Linked DNA regions of Homo sapiens: region 1 is linked to region 2. The links are contacts of gene promoters, found by promoter capture Hi-C in blood cells and fetal thymus (Javierre and others, 2016). All regions are on one chromosome and are shown on one strand. Each heading gives the region's core, a stretch centred on a gene start or on the middle of the fragment in contact. The rest is flanking DNA. Distances are from core to core; before and after follow the strand shown. Region 1 overlaps LOC124904059 (a long non-coding RNA gene). Region 2 holds the start of ERLN (endoregulin).

Region 1 (5,467 bases), core at 2,525-5,024, 350 kb after region 2:
CAGAGGAATCATATACTTCCTCAATAGATGTTTCTCTTCATCTATCCATCTGGGCAGACATGTTTTCTGCCACCTTCCCCCCTCTTCTTCCATAGTAGGAAAATGCCCAATTATTATTATTATTGACAAGGTCTCACTCTTTCATCCAGGCTGGAGTGCAGTGGCACAATCTTGGCTCACTGCAACCTCCGCCTCCCGGGTTCAAGCAATTCTCTTGCCTCAGCCTCCCAGGTAGCTGGGATTACAGGCACCCACCGCCACGCCCAGCCAATTTTTGTATTTTTAGTAGAGACGGGGTTTCACCGTATTGGCCAAGGTAGTCTTGAACTCCTGACCTTAAGTGATCCACCCACCTCGGCCTCCCAAAGTGCTGGGATTACAGGTGTGAGCCACCATGCCCAGCCAGAGAATACCCAATTTTTAGCTTGCATATGACTACCCAGAGTAAAGACCACCTGTCCCAGCTACTGACATTTAGGTGCAGCCATGTGACTCAGCTCTGGCCAATAGGATTCAAGTAAAATTTTCATATGACGGCCCCAGATAACCTTCCTGGAACCCCTTTCTCTTGCAATCATGTCTCCATCCTGTTGCTTCACTACCCATGTGATGTCTGGAGCTCTGGCTGCTGACACTGATGGCCACACCCTAGGGCAGCGGTCCCCAACCTTTTTGTCACCGGTTGCATGGAAAACAATTTCCCACGGTGGAGGGGGAACGGTTTTGGGATGAAACTGTTCCACCTCAGATCATCAGGTATTAGATTCTCATAAGGAGCGTGGAACCTAGATCCCTCGCGTACGCAGTTCACGTAGGGTTCGTGCTCCTGTGAGAATCTAGTGCCGCCGCTGATCTGACAGGAGGCGGTAATGCTTGCTCGCCCGCCATCATCTCCTGCTGTGGGGCCCAGCTCCTTACAGGCCACAGACCCGTACTGGGTTGGGTCCTTCTGCCCTAAGGGTTGTGGCATGGTGGGCTGGAAGGGGCCAGTGCTCTGCTCCTGGGAAGTTGATGGAGACAGTGGCTGAACCAGCCCTGGTGAGCTTACTGTGGACTTTGATGAATTCAAGCCACTATTGTGGGGCTCTGTCACTTTCAGGGCAGCTGAATCTAGTCCTGATACCCCATCATTCATGTCTGCCTACCAAGCAGCCAATCCCCACAGTCCCTGACATCTCCAGAATCCCCACCGCAAAGGGGAGCAAAGAAAAGACGTCTGTGGACATTTCCCATCTTTCTCTACTCAACCCTGCTACGTACGTAGTTCTCCACTCCCACGATTCCCTGTCTATAAATACTTTCATGGGGTGGAGGCAGATGAGGATGTGGAAGGGGGAAATCACTTCACTCTGAGCCATGCTGGGTGGTGTGTCATCTCCATCCCTGCACTCTAGTGTCTACTGAGCCGTCGAACACAGGCCCAGGTGCTGGAGACAGAGATGCATAAGAAAGTTACCAAACACCAGCCCTCAGGAAGCCGGAGATACCGTGGCAGATACTGAGCAGTAATCCATCCCAGAAGGCAGCGGGGCAAGGAGAGCAGAGGGGAGGCCGACTTGGATGGGGTCAGGAGAGACTTCAGAGAGACGGTGACTCCAGAACTGAGGCGTGGGGAAAGGAGGGAAAAAGGCTCATGCAGAAGCATGTGAGCATCCACCAAAGAAAAAACATCGAGTGTCAGCGGGGATGGCGAGAAACTGGAACCGCAGACCTCGCTGGTGGGAATGTATTAATAAGATGGTGCTGGCCAGGTGCAGTGGTTCACACCTGTAATCCCAGCACTTGGGGAGGCCGAGGCGGGTGGATCACTTGAGGTCAGGAGTTCGAGACTGGCCTGGCCAACAGGGTGAAACCCTGTCTCTACCAAAAATCTGAAAATTAGCTTCATGTGGTGGCGGGTGCCTGTAATCCCTCCCCACCCTCGGGAGGCAGGGGCAGGAGAATTGCTTGAAGCTGGGAGGCGGAGGTTGCAGCGAGCCAAGATGGTACCACTGCACTCCAGCCTGGGCAACAAGAGCAAAACTCTGTCTCAAAAAAAAAAAAAAAAAAAGCTCTGGAATTGGATAGCGGTGATGATTGCACAATATACTAAACAAACCCCACGAAGCTGTATATTTTTAAACATACAGTTTTTTGATGTTTTTTAATGTTATGTGAATTATATCTTAATACAAATAAGCTTTAAAAATCATTATGAGCCAGGTGCAGTGGCTCATGCCTGTAATCCAAGCAGTTTGGAAGGCTGAGACGGGAGGATTGCTTGATCCCAGGAGTTGGAGACCAACCTGGACAACATAGGAAAACCTCATCTCTACAAATAATAAAATAAAAATTAGCCAGGCATGGTGGTACACACCTGTGGTCCCAGTTATTCAGGAAGCTGAGGTGGGAGAATTGCATGAGTCTGGGCCGTCAAGGCTGCAATAAATCGTGATCATGCCACTGCACTGCCACTGGGCAACAGAGGAGGATCTCATCTCAAAAAAGAAAAAAAAGATTGTGATACAACCAACAAAAGTTATACTTTATGAAAAACTTAAAAAACATGGAAAACATCATCATAGTACAATGTTAAATGAAAGCGCATAATCTTACATGTACAGTAGGATTATAATTGTGTTAAAAACAAAAACACATCACTTAAATACAGGAAAAGCCCAGTGGAAAGAAATGTATCAATACTGGGACAGGAGAAAATCTGTTTCTGTCTTGGGAGTAATGACATGACCACCCTGCCTGATTTGCTATGGATTTGAGGAGGCTTTAGGCCCATTTTCTCATAGCCTGCTTCTTAGATTTGGAGCTCCCAAAAGTAGTCAACTTTTTTTTTTTTTTTTTTTTTCAGATGGAGTCTCACTCTGTCATCCAGGCTGGAGTGCAGCGGTGCGATCTCAGCTCACTGCAAGCTCCACCTCCCGGGTTCACACCATTCTCCTGCCTCAGCCTCCCAAGTAGCTGGGACTACAGGTGCCCTCCACCACGCCCAGCTAATTTTTTGTATTTTTAGTAGAGACGGGGTTTCACCATGTTAGCCAGGATGGTCTTGATCTCCTGACCTCATGATCCTCCTGCCTCGGCCTCCCAAAGTGCCGGGATTACAGGCGTGAGCCACCTCGCCCGGCCCATTTTTTGTTTTTGAGACGGGGTCCTGCACTCCCAGGCTGGAGTGCAGTGGCATGATTTTGGCTCACTGTAGCCTTGACCTCCCAGGCTCAAGAGAACCTTCCACCTCAGCCTCCCAAGGAGCTAGGACTACAGGCGCGTGCCACACATCCAGCGGTTTTTTTTTTTTTTTTTTTTTGGTAGAAACAAAGTCTCACTATTGTTGCCCAGGCTGGTCTTGAACTCCTGGGCTCAAGTAATCCTCCTGCCTCAGCCTTCCAAAGTGCTGGGAGAGGTAGTCATCCTTGAGTCAGGAACCGTAAATTGTCACGGAAGAAGACGTGGTCTGTGGCTAGGCGCGGTGGTTCACGCCTGGAATCCCAGCACTTTGGGAGGCCGAGGAAGGCAGATCACCTGAGGTTAGGAGTTCGAGACCAGCCTTGCCAACATGGTGAAACTCTGTCTCTACTAATAATAAAAAATTAGCTGGGTGTGGTGGCGCGTGCCTGTAATCCCAGCTACTCAGGAGGCTGAGGCAGGAGAACTGCTGAAACTTTGGAGACAGAGGTTGCAGTGAGCCAAAACCGCTGCCACTACATTCCAGCCTGGGCTACAGAGCGAGACTCTGTCTCAAAAAATAAAAAATAAAAGAAGACATGGTTTGCGGTGGATGTGGGACATGTCAACCCTTCCACACACAGACACCTCTACCTTCACGACAGGGCTGCACTCTGTTCTCTGTGTGCATTTGATGGCAGGCAGGGTGAAGATGGGCTTCCCACAGACACAGCAAAAATTCCTTTTATTTTATTTTTTGAGACAGATTTTCGCTCTTGTTGCCCAGGCTCGAGTGCAGTGGCGTGATCTTGGCTCACTGCAACCTCTGCCTCCCAGGTTCAAGCGATTCTCCTGCCTCAGCCTCCCGAGTAGCTGGGATTATAGGCACCTTCCACCACGCCTGGCTAATTTTTGTTGTATATTTAGTAGAGAAGGGGTTTCACCATGTTGGCCAGGCTGGTCTTGAACTCCTGACCTCAGTTGATCCACCCACCTCGGCCTCCCAAAGTGCTGGGATTACAGGAGTGAGCCACCGCGCCCAGCCAGAAAATTCTTTCTCACAGAAGCTCAGAAACAGGTGATGAGTGAGGAGGCGTGGTCACCCACAACAGTTGATGATCTGGTCAAAGAGAACCAAATGCCGAAAACCACAAAGCTGGAAGCCTTGAGACCCTCCAGCAAACTTGGGAACCCTTCTTCTCTGGCCTGGTATTGACATTTCCTGTAGCCTCTTTTTGGAATTTCCTGTAGCGAAACAACGGAGTTTCGCTCCTGTTGCCTAGGCTGGAGTGCAATGGCGCGATCTCAGCTCACAGCAACCTCCGCCTCCCGGATTCAAGCCATTCTCCTGCCTCAGCCTCCAGAGTAGCTGGGATTACAGGCAGGTGCCACCACGCCCAGATAATTTTTATAGTTTTAGTAGAGACGGGGTTTCACCATGTTGGCAAGGCTGGTTTCAAACTCCTAACCTCAAGTGATCTGCCTGCCTCGGCCTCCCAAAGTGCTGGGATTACAGGCATGAGCCACCTCACCCAGCTAGTTTTTTATTATTAGTAGAGACAGGGTTTCACCACGTTGGCCAGGCTGGTCTCAAACTCCTGACGTCAGATGATCCGCCCGCCTCGACCTCCTGAAGTGCCGGCATTACAGACGTGAGCCACCGCACCCGGCGCCCTGTAGCCTCTTGATGTTTGACTCCCCTGAGAAGAGCAACAGAAGAAAGTCAAAATGGGTAAGAAATCAGCTATTGAAAGTTACTGGACAGTGAATCCTCTCTTTCTTTCTTTCTTTTTTTTTTTTATTTTAGTTTACTGGTGTTTGAGTCATTTGCTGAGTAAATCTGAAAGAACAAAGAAAAAAAGGAACTGTTGCCAAGGTGCCCCTATCTTTGGGGCTTGCAGCCTATCAGAACTTCCTCCAGAATCCTCCATCAGTGGTTGGCTTCTCATTATTTCCTCAGCCCTTTAGCTCTATTAAGTTTTAAAAAATAAAATGAAGGCCGGCCATAGTGGCTCATGCCTGTAATCTCAGCACTTTGGAAGGCCAAGGTGGGTGGATTGCTTGAGGTCAGGAGTTCAAGACCAGCCTGGGCACACCCCGTCTCATTTAAAAATAAAATAAAATAAAATAAAATGATGGAGATTTATATCCATGCAAAAACCTGCACATGAAGGCTTATGGCAACTTTATTCATAAATGCTAAAGCTTGGAAGCAACTAAGATGTCCTGTTTTTTTGGGTTTTTTGAGACGGAGTCTCGCACTGTCACCTGTGCTGGAGTACAATGGCATGATCTCAGCTCACTGCAA
Region 2 (6,032 bases), core at 582-3,081:
GATGGCTGGAGACAGGCAGGCTAGAGCGTGCAGGCCCCGGTGCGGCTTTGTTCGGGAAGCTTGCTCTGGTGGCTCTATCTGGATTAAAAATGAGCTCTCACAAGTTAGCAGATTTGAAAAGGAATTTTTATTTCATTTGGTTGTGTCTTTCTCTGTCAAGGATTTGTGAAATTGCTGGCTGGGCCTGTGAGCCTGTTAGAGAACCTTGTTAGCCATAGCTCCTTCCACCTGAGGCAGTGGAGCCATCCTCTCCATGTGCTTTTAGGGTTCTGGTCGGGGAACCCTAAAAACAATAGGGTCAAGGAGCCAGAATTGGTCTCAGACCAGCCTCCCCATCTTACTAGTCTGACCAACCCTAAGCCAGATACAGTATTTTACTAGACTTTTTCCTGATGGGAAAGGAAGACACCAGGGCTTGGCCCCTGAGCCAGAGGGAACCGCGAAGGGGCCCACCACTGGAATGGGGGCAGGTCAGCTCGCCTCCCCTGCTGCCATCTCAGTCCCCAGCAAGTCAGGTCACTCCTCTTCACCCGCTTCACACTGAGTGTTTTCTGTGGAAGTGAGTAAACCAAACACGATGGCAAATAAGATGAGAAGCAGGACAGCGGTGATGAATAAGATAATCACTGCCAGGCCCCCCTGGTCCCAGGGGTTCTGCCAGAACGCATCATTCCAGATTGTCTCTTTGAATACCAGTTGGTCCATGAGAATCTGGAAAAGAGGGACAGAGGACCTGAGTGCAGGCAGCCCTCCCAGGCCCTGTCCCAGGTGCTATGCTCTGCCCGCCGACTCCAGCCTCTGTAGCAGCCTCTGTGAGCAGCCGGCCCGCCTGGCAGCCAGGGGACATGAAAGGGCTAGAGTCTTTGTGCTGGATGCCTGCAGCCAGCAGCAAATGGCATTTCCCCCGCTCTAGATACAGGAGCCAGGACTGGCGCAAGAAGTGGGGCCCTGGATTCTTCCTAGGGGATGCCCCTGGATTCTCCAGTCCTTCTTTCCTGAGTAGCAAGTGTGAGCAAGGACTCTCTCTCATCCCTGAGACCTACTTGGCTAGAATCTAAAAAGCATCATGATAGAGTCTCCCTGTTTTTCCTGCCCCAACTGCCAAACATTTGGGAGGCATTTGAGAGAGCGTATAGGAGCCGAGGAGGGGCCAACTCCAGCTGAGGCCTCGGTAGCCTCCTTGGAGCAGCTGAGAATAGAACTTAGGAGTCCTCTAGAAGCGGAGCTCCTTATCGCAGACTGCAAGCCCATAGCCAGGTGAGGGCAGCCCAGGTGGAGAAGGAGGGAGCCATTACCTGATTCTGCTGGTAGCTGTTCTGGGTCCTACAAGGGCAATTCAGGGTGGTCCTTCAGGCTCACACTTTGTGGAGGGCTGAGCTGAAGAGGCCGCCAGGTGACCAGAGCTGCACCCTGACTCAAAGAAGCAACTGTTGAGAGGAAAAGGCATGAGCGTGGCCAAGCGGCCCTGACCAGACCTTAGTTGCTGTCACCAAACAAACAAAGGTGGGCTAGGGCTGGTTGCCTGGCAACCACGGCTCCCTTTCTGCCTTTCACGTTCCCCCTTCAGCTCCTTTCTGCCCTTGTGTGATGTCATTTTGGGGGTGCTCAGGGCACGTGTTCATGAGTCCCTCCTGAGAGAAGTCAGACTTGGGGTGGACGGGGAAGAGACTGGACCGAGGGCCTTTGCCCCAGGCCATCAGGCCGCCTCACCTGTGGCTGGGCTGGGCTGTCCTCTGTCTGGGTGACGTGTGGACTGCGGACCTGCCCCGAGCTCAGGAAGCCCTGGGGCTGGGACTGGCGTAGGGCTCACTTCCTGTGTTGTGGGGTGAATGATTAACTGCAGCCCTGGCTGGCGCCTGGTGCCTCCTGGAACTGTTTCTGGGGGAAGTGTTGCTCCCCCCCTGAGGCTTCCCATTGGTGCCTTTGTCTGCTCCCTGGGCACGGCCTCAGCAACATTGTGTGGTTGGTTTCTGCCCACTGGCACAATAGGGAAGCTGGGAAGAGGGGATCAAGCCTGTGCCCTGGTGCTTGAAACCTAGTGGCCACCATATACTCCTTTAAAAGCTAGGATGTGAGGGCCCGCTATGGCCAGGAACCATGCCAGGCACTGTGTGTCCAGTTGTGAGATCAGAGAGGCGGGCCCTGCCCTCCAAGGGCTTCCCTTCTAGCCCTCGGGTGCTTATCCCAGCTGGTAAAGATCTAGGAGCTTTGAGAAATGCCCAGGCCCCACCTGGTACCACTTATATCAGTCTCTGGGGTTGCCAGGATGTCGTATTGTTTACACATCCCCAGGTGATTCTCCCCAGGTGTGGCCAGGGTTGGATGACAGATGGAGGCAGATTTAGAACAGTCGTTCTTAACTATCATGGGCGTCACTGACCCGGGTTACCTGATGTTTTCTGTTTCCTTGTGTGAAACTTACTGACTAAGGCCCTTGGCATGCTGAACGCTCACAGCAGTGGGCCAGTCTCTAGCTCACCCTTTGCGTGCAGCTCCGTCAGTTAAGTCAGATGCTTATCAAGAGTCAAGTGTTGGTTCCCAAACCTGTTCATGGCAGTTGTACTTGTAATTACATAATTGAATTTAACATCCCGGGAACCAATGAAGCAACAATAATAGCTGAAACCCCAATTTTACATGTGGGGAACGGGCACAGAGAGGTTAAATAACTTAGCCGAGGTCATCAGCTAGTAAGTAACTGAGTTGGAGTTTGAATCCAGCAGCACACAGTCTGAGCGCTGAAGCACCTGTGCTGCACCTCAGAGCGAGTGGAGAAAGAAATTCTTTCTAGAAATACCTATTGACTACTTTGGGATGACTTTGGAATCACTCAGATAATGTTCCTGTTGAAAAAGATGCAGACATGATAACTAAACATCAGGGACATTTTGTAAAAACCCAGAAGGTTTTCACACCCAGCTTCCTTTGCCTTTAAGTTCCAATGACTTTAAGTTTTTGTTCTGCTTTAAAGAAACCAAAACTAGAAAATAACAATCCAGGAGCTGTGGTTGGCAAGCCCACACTCAACCAAAACTAGAAGATAGCAATCCAGGAGCTCTGGTTGGCAAGCCCACACTCAGAGAAAAGGCCAGGAAGGCCGGCCAAGGAAAAGGTGTATGTTTCCATTTAATGTGAGATATGTAAAAAAGTAATAGATGTGTAGAGAACTTAGGTGTTCTTTAACAAAAGTTGCTTTGACCAGCTCTTTCAATTAACTGCCGGCCCCAATTGGATAATTTTTTTTTTTTTTTTTGAGGCAGAGTCTCACTCTGTAGCCCAGGCTGGAGTGCAGTGGTGTGATCTTGGCTCACTGCAACCTCTGTCTCCCGGGTTCAGGCGATTCTCCTGCCTCAGCCTCCTGAGTAGCTGGGATCACAGGCGTGTGCCACCATGCCCGGTTGGGAGGAAACTTTTATATACTCTCTGCCAAGTTTTTCTAATGAGATTCTTGTATCCGTGGCTTTATTGTCATTTTTTATTTTTATTTTATTTTTTTTGAGACAGGGTCTTGCTCTGTCACTCAGGCTGGAGTGCAGTGCCACTGTCATGCCCCAGGCAGTCCTCCTGCCTCAACCTCCACAGGAGTAGCTGGGACCACAGGTGTATGCTACCACACCTGGCTAATTTTTTTTTATATTTGTAGGGACAGGGTCTCCCCATGTTGCCCAGGCTGGTCTCAAACTCCCGAGCTCAAGGATCCTTGGCCTTCCAAAGTGCTGGGATTACATGCATGTGATATACTATGCTGGTCTGTTGTTGTTTTTTGTTTGTTTGCTTGAGACGGAATCTCACTCTGTCGCTCAGGCTGGAGTGCGGTGGCGTGATCTCAGCTCACTGCAACCTCTGCCTCCTGGGTTCAAGCAATTCTCCTGCTTCAGCCTCCCGAGTAGCTGGGACTACAGGCGTGCGCCACCACACCCGGCTAATTTTTTTGTATTTTTAGTAGAGACAGGTTTCACCATGTTGGTCAGGCTGGTCTTGAACTCCTGACTTCAAATGATCTGCCTGCCTCAGCCTCCCAAAGTGCTGGGATTACAGGCAGGAGTCACCACGCCCATCCCTATTGTAGCTTTTAATCAGGCATGATGTACAGACAGTGTGGCACGCAGGTCTTCAGAGTAGAGTGCAGCCCTTTTGAGGAGCCGAGAGCAGCCTGCCCTGTGGCGGAAGCAGAGGGCACAGCTTGGGGTGGGCATGAAGAGGCTGGCGACATGATTGTGGGGACCACTTAGGATGCTGCTGCAGTGACCACAGGTAAGCATTGATGGTGGCATGGTCCAGGATGGCACAGTGGCGGGAACAGAGAGGTGGTGACCAAGTCAGACGTCCTCTAAACCTGAAACCAGCCTGATGGCTGCCCCTTCCATGGCCCCCACCTGTCTTCAGGCCGCCCAGGTCTGCAGCATCTTTCTGTTTATTCTTTCCCACAGTGGGGCAACTGCTGCCACCTTTCCATGCCCATCTTCCCCAGGGAAGACCGGCACAAGAAGCTGCCTCTTAAAGGAGCGGGCCAGGCTGCTGTCGGAGAGCAGGTCTGGTTTGTTAATCTCAGTGGGTTTGAAGCCTGTGAAGGAGTTGGCCCGACAGCCGGGCCTGGTGTGTGCCAGTTGGCCAAGGAGCAGGGAGGAGTGAGTCCTGTGAGGGCAGGGACCGAATCCTGTGCGGACTCAGCAGTTGTTCACCGCCTGCCCTAGAGCGGCCATTCGGCCTGTCTGTGCCCAGGGCTGTCTGTGGTTCCCACCTCTCCGCAGCTGGGCTGGGGAAGCAGAATATTTTCTAACAAAGGGCCTCAGCCTCAGCCGCCCTGGAGCAGGGCTATTCTTATGCTGATGAAAACTGGCTTATGGAAAAGTCACCCAGGAATTGGGCTGCTTCCCTGTTGGCCATCTCCCAAACAGAAGGCTTCCAGGGACCCTCCAGCCATTGGTGCTGGGAATGAAAAATGCAGGGTTTCCTGTCCGTCCACTACCCTGTGTTTTTCTTCCGGGAGGGGTGCCTCATTGGGCACCACCCCAGCTCTTACCTGTTGGGTCCCACCCAGTCCTGCGAAGGTTATTTTGAGACAGAGTTTGGGGTGTGGGTGTTTTGGGTGTAGGGTTGGTCGATGGAGGATAATGGATTAGAGCCTTATCTGTACTGCAACCAGGAGGCCAAGTTCTGGGTCTCAGAGCCCTGGGTGTGGTAAGCAGAGGCTCTGGAGCCAGATAGGCTGGACTCAAGCAGGCCCTGCTCCTTTTCAGCTGGTTGAATGTAGACAAGTTACCTAACATCGCTGAGGCCCAGCTTCCTCATCTCTAAAATGGGGGTAATAGTGGTATCTTCAACATGGAGGTACTGTGATGAGTAATTGAGTTTATCTGCACCAAAATGCTGAAGACAATGCTGAGTATGTGTAACTCCTCAGTAAATTTTAGCCATCTTCATCATCATCTTCATCCTCCTCCTCATGATCATCGTCATCATTCTGAATCCTATTCTTTGGAGGGGGCTGAGAATGGACAAATTTTTGAATTTCTTTTCTTTTGTATGAAAACACTTACTCTCTGGGTCTTTAACCTAAACCTGTCAGACAAGTCCGTGGACACTAGAAAGTGAAACCAGAGGGTGAGAGCTTCCCCTCCCTGCCTGCTATTGCCAGTGTGGCCTGGACTGCCAGCTGGAAATGGCGGGGGTGTGGCAGGGGCTGGGATCCCCTCTCCATGACATGTTTCCCAGGTAGACAGGGCTCTGCTCCCAGGTGGCCAGAGCACGGGTCACGCAGGCCAAGATGATGGAAGCATGTGAAAAACACAGACTTCTTGAGGCTCTGGGGAAGCCCCGGGGAGGCACCTCGGGATGCTCTGTCTGGACCCATTGGCATTTCTGGAGCCATGTGCCTCCCCTCCCCTCACTCCTGGGTTCGTAGCTCTACCTGGAAAGTTCTCTGGAAGAAAAACTCAGCTGAAAGGAGGGGGTAAGGAAGGAAAGGTGCTGCTTCTCAGCAAGACCAGTCTTTAAAATGGGTCCCTGTTGCCCTGGTTGGTCCCATGTTT

What was found. The method cuts DNA at HindIII sites, captures the fragments that hold promoters and counts their contacts. A CHiCAGO score of 5 or more calls a contact.
Region 1: a contact is called between a fragment that was not itself captured here and the fragment with the promoter of ERLN in region 2, in 1 of 17 cell types (endothelial precursors). The highest score is 5.1, in endothelial precursors.

Annotation. Positions count from the first base shown.
Region 1 is chr17:75,297,103-75,302,569 of GRCh38, reverse strand. LOC124904059 (a long non-coding RNA gene) reads right to left here. Exons shown (of 2, transcript XR_007065908.1): 2 at 4,691-4,859. Among named protein-coding and RNA genes, the nearest start is that of SLC25A19, 10 kb to the right of the region's middle. RefSeq lists enhancers at 901-1,401, 4,482-4,561, 4,732-4,991. The HindIII fragment of the contact is 3,185 bases long and covers 2,182-5,366 here.
Region 2 is chr17:75,642,050-75,648,081 of GRCh38, reverse strand. ERLN (endoregulin) reads right to left here and starts at 1,831. Exons shown (of 2, transcript NM_001162997.2): 1 at 1,296-1,831; 2 at 108-711. The coding sequence starts at 705. The coding sequence ends at 517. The region is part of intron 8 of RECQL5 (RecQ like helicase 5); the gene reads left to right. RefSeq lists enhancers at 1,513-1,592, 1,760-1,904, a cis regulatory region at 1,826-1,839 and a silencer at 4,699-4,993. The HindIII fragment of the contact is 6,633 bases long and covers 62-6,032 here.